Regions from separate parts of the Homo sapiens genome. Here regions 1, 3 and 4 are each linked to region 2. The links are contacts of gene promoters, found by promoter capture Hi-C in blood cells and fetal thymus (Javierre and others, 2016). All regions are on one chromosome and are shown on one strand. Each heading gives the region's core, a stretch centred on a gene start or on the middle of the fragment in contact. The rest is flanking DNA. Distances are from core to core; before and after follow the strand shown. Region 1 holds the start of LOC124906088 (a long non-coding RNA gene). Region 2 holds the start of CERS6-AS1 (CERS6 antisense RNA 1). Region 3 overlaps STK39 (serine/threonine kinase 39). Region 4 overlaps STK39 (serine/threonine kinase 39).

Region 1 (2,926 bases), core at 104-2,603, 580 kb before region 2:
GTCTTAAGCAAAATCAAATAACTTTTAATAAGTTAGATTTTTTTAAAGTGATGGAAAATACAGAGACCACCAGAAAAACATGTATTTTGGGGAAAAAAGCTCAACTATGAAGGTAGGTGTATTCTTAGATATATATAACTTTGAAACCTTTCTCTTACTATAAGAAACTAATGTAAGGCCTGGCGCGGTGGCTCACGCCTGTAATCCCAGCACTTTGGGAGGCGGAGGTGGGCAGATCCCCTGAGGTCAGGAGTTTGAGACTAGCCTGACCAACATGGAGAAACCCCATCTCTACTAAAAATACAAAATTAGCCGGGCACGGTGGCACATGCCCGTAATCCCAGCTACTTACTCGGTTGGCTGGGGCAGAAGAATCACTTGAACCCAGGAGGCAGAGGTTGGAGTGAGCCGAGATCGCACCACTGCACTCCAGCCTGGGGCGACAAGAGCAAAACTCTGTCTCAGAAACAAACGAAAAGAAAGAAACTAATGTAATTAGGCTGGGTGCGGAGGCTCACGCCTGTAATCCCAACAGTTTGGGAGGCCGAGGCAGGCAGATCACTTAAGGTCAGGAGTTCGAGACCAGCCTGGCCAACATGGTGAAACCCAGTCTCTATTAAAAATACAAAAACTAATCAGGCGTGGTGGCAGGCGTCTATAATCCCAGCTATCCAGGAGGCTGAAGCAAGAGAATTGCTTGAGCCTGGGAGGCAGAGGTTGCAATGAGCCAAGATCACCATTACATTCCAGCTTGGGTGACAAAGTGAGACTCTATCTCAAAAAAAAAAAAAAAATAGGAAAGAAAGGAAAGAAAGGAAGGAAGGAAGGAAGGAAGGAAGGAAGGAAGGAAGGAAGGAAGGAAGAAAGAAACTCATGTAATTAGAAAAACCTCAATTCTCACCCATGCTGCAAAAATGGCACACCAACTCTGAAGACATCCATTGATAAAATAGGCATATATGTGCTTACTTCTTTTGAGTCATACTATCACTACTGTGAACATATTGGAAACTGACACTTTTCACAAATATCACCTGCAATTTTAAAAATTAAAAGTGTAAACCCAAAGAATTGCAATGCAAATATCAAAAGTTCACCTCAAAGGTCATTTATCACCATTTTTTTCCCACCCCTTCTTGAAATGCTGGCTCAGAGAATTGCTATGAAAGAAAATATGTTGTGGTTTCATTAAAATTTCTAACTTAGAGATGTTGCAAACTTCATTATCAGTTACTGGATCATACAAGCTGCACACACATCAAGACACCTACTCCCATTAGTTAAGCAAACTATCAAACTTTGTTGTTTTGTTTTGTTTTGAGACGAAGTCTTGCTCTGTCGTCCAGGCAGGAGTGCAGTGGCATGATCTTAGCTCCCTGCAACCTCCGCCTCCTGGGTTCAAGCGATTCTCCTGCCTCAGCCTCCCTAGGAACTGGGACCACAGGCACCTGCCACCACACCCGGCTAATTTTTATATTTTTAGTACAGATGTGGTTTTGCCATGTCAGCCAGGCTGGTCTCAAACCCCCGACCTCAAATGATCCTCTCACCTCAGCCTCCCTAAGTGCTGAAATTACAGACGTGAGCCACTGCGCCCAGCCTCAAACTTTGAATAACGGATTTAAAATCTGAACAGGAAAATCTTTAATCTCCTCTTTGTTTTCAGCAGGAACACTAGAGAAGAGACAATCTACACAAAATAATATACAACTTAATTATAATTTCACTTGTCTTTCTCTGAAATAAGGCAAAAAAAATGCTCATCAAAATTTCAATGGTGAGTAGTCATTATATGGTTAAAAAGAGAAAGTATAACGTATTAGTCCGTTTTCTCTATTTACGTAATCACAATGAACAAACTGAAACTTCAGTTCCTCTAAATCCAACTTTAAAATCTTGCACCCTCAATATTCTAGGGCAAAAAAAATTATTAATTAGCTATAAATCTAGACAATAAAAATATTTTAACTTAGATCCACCCAAAAGGCAAAGAATGACTGTTATCTCTCCCACCCCATCTATCTCATCTCAAGAGTGTTACTAAATATGGATGTATTGCTCAACTTCCCTGCTCCACACAAGTATAGACTGCAACTAGAGTGACTGTTCTTCATTTCAAACACATGAGTCAAGAGGAAGTAGTAGTAATTATTTATTGGTCAGCACACATTCATCAGGTACTCACCACATATGTGCACCTGTTTATAAGGGTCATTTCTGTTCTAGAGTTTACCAGAGTTCACCAACCCTGTGAAGAGACAGGCCAGGAGTTCAGCCTTCTCAACCATGCTTTGTGCCTTCAACCTCTAAACCAGTGAGTTCTGGGTAATATTTGATGATAGGAAGTATTCCTGCCTTAAAGATGGGACTTTATATCTGCATCTGCCTTCCAATTTATTCTTATATTTTAATTTTACTTAGTTGTGGGTAGCAAACATACTGTCTACTTGATAAAGCATCATCAACGCCCTGTCTTACGTCTCTGAGGAGCTCATGAGAGGAATCTGTACTAGTCACTGTGCAAGAGTGGAAAATAATCTGTCAGTGTAGCTGTGTGCAAACACCTCCTCTTTCTGCACAGGGCGTTCATGTATAAATTCCTATGCCTGGTTCTGAAAGCAAAATTCTGACACAAACACTCACTGGTTCTCTTATTAACTAAGTCTATACCATAATCAGGGTGTGCATACCAGCTGCTGGGAATGGAGAGGTGGTGGTTAACTGCCCCACTCTGTCACAGTTACTTTCAAAAATGACTTACTGATCATTATTCGTTTTAGTTCCACAGAAAGAATGAGACATCTCAGTTGAAACTAATACCCAAAAGGAACCTGAATGGCACCTTTAAAAAATATCTCATCCAGTCATCCAGAACCTTTGTTTCTCTCACTTTAGAAGAGGTGAAAGAAGAAAGCTTGAGTCGTAA
Region 2 (2,934 bases), core at 287-2,786:
AGTCTAACCCTGGGAACTTGCAAGGGCAAACATAACCCAGAACACAGGTTCAAAAAGAACCAGTACAAGCAATTCAGTCATTCAATACATTGCAGACTGAAGAATGGAAGCGATCTAGGTAGTAACGCTAGTTTTTTAGGGATCTGGGTTTTAAGAATGGGCTGAAAGACTCATAGGGAAAAAGTCCCAGGGGTGGGTAGTAGGTGAGGGATGAAATGCTACAAAGCGAGTTTATTTTCTGTAACTTGAGTTATAGGAAATAAAAGAGCAGTTCCCAGCCCTCCTCTTTTTGAGTCATAGCTGTTAATTTGATTCATCAGGACTGAACTCTTGGCTCTGGCCAAAGTTCCTGACCCAGAGTGCTAGTTACTGTCTGGCAAGCCATCAAGCAATCCTATGTTAGATTTCAGACTAATTGGAGCTATGTCACCAAAGATGAGTTCAAAAGGGTCCCTAGAGTTTTTAAGAGCAAAGAGTATTGTTTTTCTCTCAGCTGAGGGTACTAGATGGTACATAGAACTGAGCCCTGATGTACTACACTTCTAGTGCTGCCATTTCTTAGTTGTATCACTTAGAAGTCATTTCTGAGGAGTTATAAAATAGTTTGCACTATGCTAACCAGTAGTTTACACTATGCTACATGTACCAAATTGTTTACCCACAGAGCCAGAACACTAATGAAAGCAGTAAAATGCACATCAACATTAAGTCAATAAATGTATTGAGCACCAATCGTTCGAGACATTATGTTAGGCTTTGTGAGGAGTATGAGGAAGTCAGGGGCAAAGCTGCTGCATTGAAGGGGGTCTCAATACAGTTAGGGAGGTAGGCCACAGGCAGAAGTTATTAGCTCTAAAGATTTTTTTTTTTTTTTAAGACAGAGTCTCACTCTGTTGCCCAGGCTGGAGTGCAGTGGCACGGGATCTCAGCTCACTGCAACCTCTGCCTCCCAGGTTCAAGTGATTCTCGTGCCTCAGCCTCCTGAGTAGCTGGAATTACAGGTGCATGCCACCACACCCAGCTAATTTTTTTGTATTTTTAGTAGAGATGGGGTTTCACCATATTGGCCAGGCTGGTCTTGAACTCCTGGCCTCAAGTGATCCACCTGCCTCGGCCTCCCAAAGTGCTAGGATTACAGGCATAAGCCACTGCACACGGCCAGCAAAAGGCTTTTAAAAATAAAAATAAAATCTATAGATATAAGACATTGGTATCATCGTTATATCAAATATGTTGTGAGAATAGTAATTGCCAGAAAAGTTCAGAGGAGAGAGAGGTTGTGTTATAGTAGTCAGGCAGACATCAGCAGGCCAGGAGAGGGCTGCACGCCCAACCAGGAATGTCAGACGACCATCAAGTGATGGTCAGGTGGTTGTTACACTGTTACAATCATTATTTCTCTAAAACAATAATTAGTCACAGCCAGCACGAGGGAAAGGCAATCTCCCGACAGACAGAAAAAACCTGAAACTGGTTATCAGCAGCGTCCCAATAAGATCTCAGGTGTTAGGTAAGTGGGCTCAAGCATGCGCACTATGAGGCAAAATGGGGGAGTTTAACTGGTATATGACCTTCCTCTAGGAACGTTAGATTGGTAATAGAAGAACGTCTCAAGTGAGCATGCGTATAACTCCCGTAAACACACTGCGCATGCAGCCCTTCCCAAGCACTGGTAGGGCACTGGGCATGCAGACAGCCCACCAGAAGGGAAGAATCAGGAGAAAAGGGATGCAAGATCCCAGAGGTATGCCAATATATAAAACCCTAAGGCAAAGGTCAAGCCAGCCACTTGATCCCTCAAGTGGCCAGCTTGGCCCTCCTCGAAGTGTACTTTACTTCCTTTCGTTCCTGCCCTAAAACCTTTTAGTAAACTTTCACTCTTGCTCTAAAACTTGCCTCAGTCTCTCAGTCTGCCTTATTTTTCCTCGGTCAAATTCTTCCCTGCCTCCCCCCTCCTCCAGAGTAGCTGGGACTACAGGCGCCCGCCATCACACCTGGCTAATTTTTTGTATTTTTAGTAGAGACGGGGTTTCACCATGTTGTTCAGGCTGGTCTCGAATGCCTGACCTCAAGTGATCCACCTGCCTCAACCTTCCAAAGTTCTGGGATTACAGGCGTGAGCCACCACACCCGGCCCCAAATTCTTTCTTCTAAGGAGCTAAGAATTGAGTTCGCTGCGGACCCATAAGGATTCGCTGCTCGTAACAGCTGCTTCTGGGATCAGGTAAGAAAAGGTTTCAAGCAGAAAGCTAGGAAGAATGAATAGTATTTGAATGAGTCAAGTGGAAAGAGGAAAGGCATTTGAGACAAAGGGCATAGCGTGAAGCAGTGAGGCAGCCTCCACCCCACTTCCTACCACCTGTTCTCCCCCTTAGTGGCCTGACCTTGACCTTCCACTCCATCCTCATCCCTCCCCATGGGCACTGTCTCAGAATGTGCCATGCCTGTGACAGCTCCAGGACTCTGGCCATACTGCTTACACTGCCACAGAGACCTCTTTCCTCTTCTTCTTCATGTCGCTAACTCTTACTTGGCCTTGAAGACTAATTTGTGTTAGAAGTTAGTCTTCCCAGAAAGCCTTAGCCTTTGGGAATTTGGTGCTCTTCCTTGAGAAGAAAAGGTACAACCATTTAACTCCATCAGAACACTTATCACACGGCCTTCCCCACTGGACTCAATGGAAGCATCTTGAGGGCAAAGGCCTTACCTTTTATAGCTGATCCTTATCAGCCACAGTGTCCACTACACAGCAGGTGCCCAATAAATTCCTGTAGAATGAATATGCATTTACAGAAAGAGGAGCTGTGAGAAGATGCCTCAGTTTTTGGAAAGGAAAAATGGGTTGATTTTTACATTTTGAATTTAAGCTGATGAGAGTCCTTTCATGTGGACATGTCTAACAAAAATTGGAAGTAGAAGACTGAAACTGGAGGC
Region 3 (3,233 bases), core at 261-2,760, 640 kb before region 2:
AAGACCTTCTGAATCCATCCACTTCTTTGCTCCTCCACAGCCACTGCCTTCATTTAATCCACCACTACTTCTTGCTAAGATTTCTGCAGCAGCCTCCTAAGTTCCCATCTCCCTTCTTTCCCCAGATCCAGGCTCCAGCAACCAGGCCTTTCTATGTCACAGGCCTGAGCCCTCCTTAAAAGACTTTCAGGACAGGAGCGGTGGCTCATGCCTGTAACCCCAGCACTTTGGGAGGCCAATGCAAGTGGATCACGAGGTCAGGAGTTCAAGACCATCCAGGCCAACATGGTGAAACCCCATCTCTACTAAAAAAATACAAAAAATCAGCTGGGCCTGGTGGCACGCGCCTGTAGTCCCAGCAACTCTGGAGGCTGAGGCGGGGGAATCGCTTGAACCCAGGAGGCGGAGGTTGCAGTGAGCTGAGATCATGCCACTCCACTCTGGCCTGGCAAGAGAGCAAGACTTTGTCTCAAAAAAAAAAAAAAGTCTTTCAAGGCTCCCTGTCCCCTCAGGAAAAAGTCAAAATCCTTCAGCATAACACGTAAACCTATATCACTACTCTCAGATTCAGACAGTAAGCTCCAGCCTACTGAATGACTTACTTTTTATTCCCTGATCCCATCACCTCCTTGGCCTCACCAGCATTGCCCTTGCACATGATGCTTTGTCGTCTAGGTACATCAACCCTCCATGCTGAACAGGTGCACCAGCAGAAGGCTTTCTGCATGACCTTGTTAATGACACAGCATCTCCGGCACCCTGGCTCTTGGTGAGTAATTTGATGTGCATTCATCACCTTTGCGTAATTTGATTTCAGTAACATTGGTCATGGTCTAGTTTTGATGTGTGAATGCTACTAAGCCTTGAGGAGGATCTGCAGGTATGGTTATCTGATTTGGAGAGTGGCAGATCTACTAGGAAACATTACAGGACTAATGGGCAAGATCTGAGTGTTAACAGTGATTAGGCCTAAGGCTAGACTATTACCCAACTGTATGACTCCCGAAAGGGACTTAAACTTTCTGGGCCTTATTGGGCTTCTTATTTAGGCCTATTTTTATTTATTTATTTTATTTTTTTGAAACAGAGTCTCGCTCTGTCGCCCAAGGTGGAACATAGTGGCATGATCATGGCTCACTGCAGCCTCAACCTCCCATGCTCAAGCGATCCTCCTACCTCAGCCTCCCAAGCAGCTATGACTACAGGCATGTGCTACCATGCCCATCTAATTTATTTTTATTTTTTGTAGATATGGGGTCTCTCTATGTTGCCCAAGGTGTTCTCAAACTGTTGAGCTCAAGCGATCCTCCTGTCTCAGCCTCCCAACGTGCTGGAATTATAAGCATGAGCCACCATGCCGAGCCTCAATTTCTATATTACTTTCATATTTATAAGACTCATTTTTTTTTTTACCATGTATGACTATTCTTTATAACAACTGTTAGGTAGATCGATAAGCTACTCACTGCCTTTTCATAAGCAAGGCAAGCAGGCTGAGGGGATAAGCATAAATATTTTACAGTGGCAGAGATAAAATAGGAGAAGACATGTTTCTTGACTTCAACAATATTTGTCGGGCATGATAGTTCATTAGGTGGGTGCGGTGGCATGCAACTGTAATTTCAGCTACTCAGGAGGATGAAATGGGAGAATCGCTTGAGCCCAGGAGGTCGAGGACGCAGTAAGCCATGATCATGCCACTGCACTCCAGTCTAGGCAACAGAGTGAGCCCGTCTCAGAAAAAAAAAAAAAAGAATATTCCCACCTAAGTAGGATAAGATGTATAAAATCAAATACTATATTGTCTGTGTAGAAGCAGAGGAGCTATAACCATAATGGTCATAGAAGACTATCTCCAAAGTGGGTCTTGGAGCCAGCCTTCAAGATGAGGTGAAGACTTGGATGAGCAAGTCCAACAGGAAACAAATTCCAGACAAAGAAACGGCATGAGCAAAGCACAAGTGTGGAGCCAAGAAGAAAAACTGACAGCTGCAAGGGTCAAAAACTCAAAACACCTACAGCAGCCAGGCAGGAATACAATGGAGAAAAGAGGGTCCTGAAAAACAACAGCTACAGTCTCAGTGACAAGGGCCCTTGATGCTCAGTCTCTGTGACGGGAGACTTTAGGAGTGCTGGGCCCTGTGTGAAGCCCTGGAGCCCACTGTCAGCACCCTCCCACCAAGGTCCAAGGCAGGCCCCTGCTGCTTGGCACCAGAAGAAAGTTGCCATAGAGAAATGTAGACCCAGGATTGCTGGATATCCCAGTTTTCCCAAAAAAGCCAAACATTGGAATCTTTATGAAAAAGCTCCCTTTCTTACTGTAGTTGGCAACAAATTCATTTTTAAAAAAATAGAAAAGCGATTTCTCCTGCCTAATTTAGTCCGCAAAACTAAAGTCTGCCAACTGTGTGGTTATGATGTCTAAAATGTACCTAAAATACTTCAACATATGCCATGTGATATTATGTTTGTGATACCACAACCTAGGTGGTCAGCTGGCATTCTAACCAAGAATGTCCAGTGCTGGGGGGGTTCTGATAGCACTCGACTCAGGATGCCAGAGGCAGCTGCTGGAAGTATTTCTATTATCCAAATCTAAATATAGATGAGCATAAGCCAGGTGACTGATTGTCCAAAGGGGTTATTATTAGGGAAAACAGTGACCTGTTGAGAGGTATGATACATGTTAGAAATGGGCTTTCACTGCTGAAAATAAAGGTTCTTAGCACCAGAGAGTGGCTAAAATATTTTAGATATACTCCTTACTCTTGCATGAACAGAATAAAACAATCCAGTCCAGTCCAACTGTAGACTATACCCTAGCCAGTTCTGTGGATGGTTGGATTCCTAGTAGCAAGCATAAGGATAAAGCAAAAACTGCATCTGGAATCTTGGCATGTCTGCCTCTAATGAATTTTTCATTCACCTATGAGGAAAAAGAACTGGGATTTCCTTGAGCTTACAGAACAAATTGTGAGAACTGTTTAGGGGCTTGCTTGCTAATGAAGGGCAAAATTTGGTCTGAAAGTTGATTTCTCTAAAACCTGTAAGGGAAGCTGTGGGTGAGTACCCAAGCCTCACCTACCTCAAACTTCTACAGTATCTGCTATTCTCTTTGAAAAGGAACCTGAGTTGTGCATGAACAACATTGACTCTCTTTGATCAGAGAGTAACGGGATCAATGTTTGAGAGTTCAGAGCTTCCTAAAATGTAGCTACAATGAGTTAAAAGAG
Region 4 (3,226 bases), core at 651-3,150, 620 kb before region 2:
AATTTCTTTCTATAAAAAGAGCAAAACATGACATAGTACCATGGGGTGAAAATTGGCAAGCAAAACACAAGTGAATCACAGTTGAGTACCTGGGTAACTTTCCTACTCGAAAGCCTACCTGAGGGGCTGCCTAAGCCATTACTTCAAAGAAGGTATATAAGGACCAATTCTCTCACCCACATTATCAACTCAGATTAGAAAGTTCTCTACAGGAGACCACAGAGCCCTGTGGACCAGCTACCAGACACAGGAACTTCAGATCACTGTTATCACCCAGATGACCCCCCAACTCTGCCAGCAGAGAGCCCTGCCACATAGGACTAAGAGCCTCATACCTGAACCGAAGGCTTGACAGGGAGATAAAAGACTGGGTGAGTTACTAGGACACCTGCATCCTGGTGCCAGCCTGAACTCTGGTGGATCTTAGCTCCTCCCTCATCCAAAAAACGACAACAAAACTGTCCCTGTTTCTCAGGACTGCTGTGATGGTAAATGAGAAAATACATTTGAAAATGCTACAGTATTATTTCCCAGCTATCTGCCACAGTAGATATTCCATTAACTAAAAAAAGGAGGTGGCAGGGAAGAGAGCGGCAGGCGAAGTAAAATAAGCTTGGGAAAGATCAGATAATATATCTCATTCTAAAAGAATCACAGGGAATATTAGTACTGTCAAAGGCTCTGAGAAGTCCTGCAGTAGATAAACTGCCATAGTTTAATCCATATTAACAGAGCAGGAAAAGAATGCTTTGTGGGTCACATCTTGGAAACACTGCTGTAGAGAATAAAATATATTTTATTCTTTGTTGTTTTATATAAAGACATAAAACAACAAAGCTGAGAAATAAAACAAAAGGAAACTTTCAATAAATCACATTTTTCTGGAATATTCAGTTTCATATTGATTTCAGTTTCTCGTTTTAAGTTATTGTCGGATGACTCCCATAAAAGCTTCAGTCTAATGTAACTCTCAATCAAAGGTACCAGACCAGTGTAACTCACTTTCAAGGTGCCATAAAAAGGACAAGAATAACCTAAATGATCAAAGAAACCTCATTTTTGCCATTATGTATTGATGAAAGAAGGGTACATTTATGCATCCTATGAATATATTCAATAATAATGAGCTTCACATTAACTCAAAGTTACCCAAGCAGAACATCTCAATTTGGACGTTATCTTTGCTTGTCCAGTACTGCCTAATCCTCATACTACTAAAAAGATCCTATATATCCGACAACTTGGCCAAAATTCTGTAATATGTAACACTCATACGTTCCTTAACATATATGTTTATTTAAAGTGCTTTTGGCTGGGGGCAGTGGCTCATACATGTAATCCCAACACTTTGGGAGGCCGCAGCAGGCGGATCACCCGAGGTCAGGAGTTCAAGACCAGCCCAGCCAACATGAGAAACATTGTCTCTACAAAAAAATTAGCTGAGTGTGGTGGTGTGCGCCTGTAGTCCCAATGACTGAGGAAGCTGAGGAACGAGAATCACTCAAACCCGGGAAGTGGAGGTTGCAGTGAGCTGAGATCGTGCCACTGGACTCCAGCCTGAGTGACAAAGCAAGATTCTGTCTCAAAAAAAAATTAAAAAATAATAAAAATGAAGTGCTTTTAACCAAAGATAAACTCCTTAGAAACTACTAATTTTTCTTTTTTCTTCTCAGTATATAACAATGATTTTCCTTCATCATTCCCCTCATCCATTTGACTGATTACAGGTTTTCTAAATCTGACACTTTTCAATTCAGCAACTCTTATCCTTTGAATAAGATCTGAAACCTGAGGTTCAGTTTCCATCTGTTTCCGGTATTAGGTTCTGATGCCATAAGACACTTCTGAAGGAGAAATGGAACACTGCCCTGGCCACTCCTATTTCAAGTCAATAGCATCTGCTCAGTGCGGGGATGGCCCACACTGAAGGTCTGTAGCATTAGGTAGGGTCCAGTTTAAACAGATGCCTAGTGTTCAAAGAAACGAGAACAATGTCTCTTAAATGCAGCTGCACTCTAAATGTAAGTGAATGCTTTTCTAGTGCTGTAACTCCAAACTTTTAAATAATTTATCAAAATGCACAAAACAACTAATGGTCATACAAAAGGAAATTCTTTTACATTGAAGGCAAGGTTGAGTCAGTCTAGAAAAACACACTTTTTAGCCCTTTGCATTTAGATGGCCAGTATCACTTCCCACCCAAAGTATCAGGTTCTCTGACTTTGCAGTGAGCGTGTGTGTGTGTGTGTGTGTGTGTGTGTGTAACTCCTTTAGAAAACCTGTAGAACCTATAGATATAACTTAGCAAATTCTATTCCTTCAAAACTCTGAGTCTTAGAGACACCATCTGGACATTAAAAGGTTCCAGAATTTAAATGAGTGGGGGATGAGGGGTCACAGATACTGCCACACCAACACAACCACAGGAGCAGTATAAGGACAGGTAAAAGAAGGGGCAGGGGGCCCAAGAGTGGCTTTCCATCAGTTTGATCACTCAACCTCACATTCTTCTTCCATGCAGCTGAGCCATCCCTCTTCACTTCTTGGCTAGGGGGGTCCATGTCCCCAACTCCTGCACCATCCATTGTCCTGCACAGCAGCTTTTCCACAAGCATTAATGCTTAAGGACATGATGAAACTCGCCTTAGGGAGAAACATCTGTAGCTCTGTCTTGAGATATGACCTATGCTATCACTGATCCCCAGGATAAGTAATATTTCCACATAGAAGAAAGTTAAAAACCTGAAAACTAGAAATCTTTCCACAAAACTATCCCCTCCATTCTTTTCAAAACAATGATGGGTGTTATTTGAAAGCTCCCTTGGTAACAATCTATTGGTTAAATTATCTAAGCTTCTCCTAATGCCCTAACCGCATTCATATGGTTAGGAAAAGACATTCATTACCAAGCATATTTGTTTGTCCCTATCCCTAAAAATGACAAAACTATTGCCTAAAGATGAACAATTTGAAAATATAAAAATGTTTTAGCTGATTCTTTCGACAGAATGAATGGGTTCTAACATCCTATTCTCTTAATTAGGTCACAACCCAAGGCAGAAGCGTGAGTTAAAGCGGTGCTTCCCTAATTTGGATGGGCATGCAGATCACCTCAGCAATTTGCTAAGATGCAGACTCCCATTCGGAAGGGCTGCAGTGCGGCCTGAGAATCTGCATTTCTAGCAGGCTTCCATGTGATGCTGATGCTGTGGGTCCAGAAACCAGA

Evidence for each region. The method cuts DNA at HindIII sites, captures the fragments that hold promoters and counts their contacts. A CHiCAGO score of 5 or more calls a contact.
Region 1: a contact is called between a fragment that was not itself captured here and the fragment with the promoter of CERS6-AS1 in region 2, in 1 of 17 cell types (activated CD4 T cells). The highest score is 5.7, in activated CD4 T cells.
Region 3: a fragment that was not itself captured here is called in contact with the fragment with the promoter of CERS6-AS1 in region 2 in 1 of 17 cell types (total CD4 T cells); the score reaches 6.6 in total CD4 T cells.
Region 4: a contact is called between a fragment that was not itself captured here and the fragment with the promoter of CERS6-AS1 in region 2, in 1 of 17 cell types (total CD4 T cells). The highest score is 5.1, in total CD4 T cells.

What each region holds. Positions count from the first base shown.
Region 1 is chr2:168,209,219-168,212,144 of GRCh38, forward strand. The region is part of intron 1 of STK39 (serine/threonine kinase 39); the gene reads right to left. It overlaps LOC124906088 (a long non-coding RNA gene), which reads left to right and starts at 2,232. Exons shown (of 2, transcript XR_007087283.1): 1 at 2,232-2,314; 2 at 2,781-2,926. RefSeq lists an enhancer at 1,602-2,801. The HindIII fragment of the contact is 3,118 bases long and covers 1-2,912 here.
Region 2 is chr2:168,784,893-168,787,826 of GRCh38, forward strand. It overlaps CERS6-AS1 (CERS6 antisense RNA 1), which reads right to left and starts at 1,537. Exons shown (of 3, transcript NR_045787.1): 1 at 1,465-1,537. It also overlaps a transcript of NOSTRIN not described here. The HindIII fragment of the contact is 3,155 bases long and covers 1-2,934 here.
Region 3 is chr2:168,143,242-168,146,474 of GRCh38, forward strand. All of the region lies in intron 5 of STK39 (serine/threonine kinase 39), which reads right to left. Among named protein-coding and RNA genes, the nearest start is that of STK39, 100 kb to the right of the region's middle. The HindIII fragment of the contact is 7,322 bases long and covers 1-3,233 here.
Region 4 is chr2:168,167,399-168,170,624 of GRCh38, forward strand. It overlaps STK39 (serine/threonine kinase 39), which reads right to left. Exons shown (of 18, transcript NM_013233.3): 3 at 1-9. Among named protein-coding and RNA genes, the nearest start is that of STK39, 79 kb to the right of the region's middle. The HindIII fragment of the contact is 1,902 bases long and covers 950-2,851 here.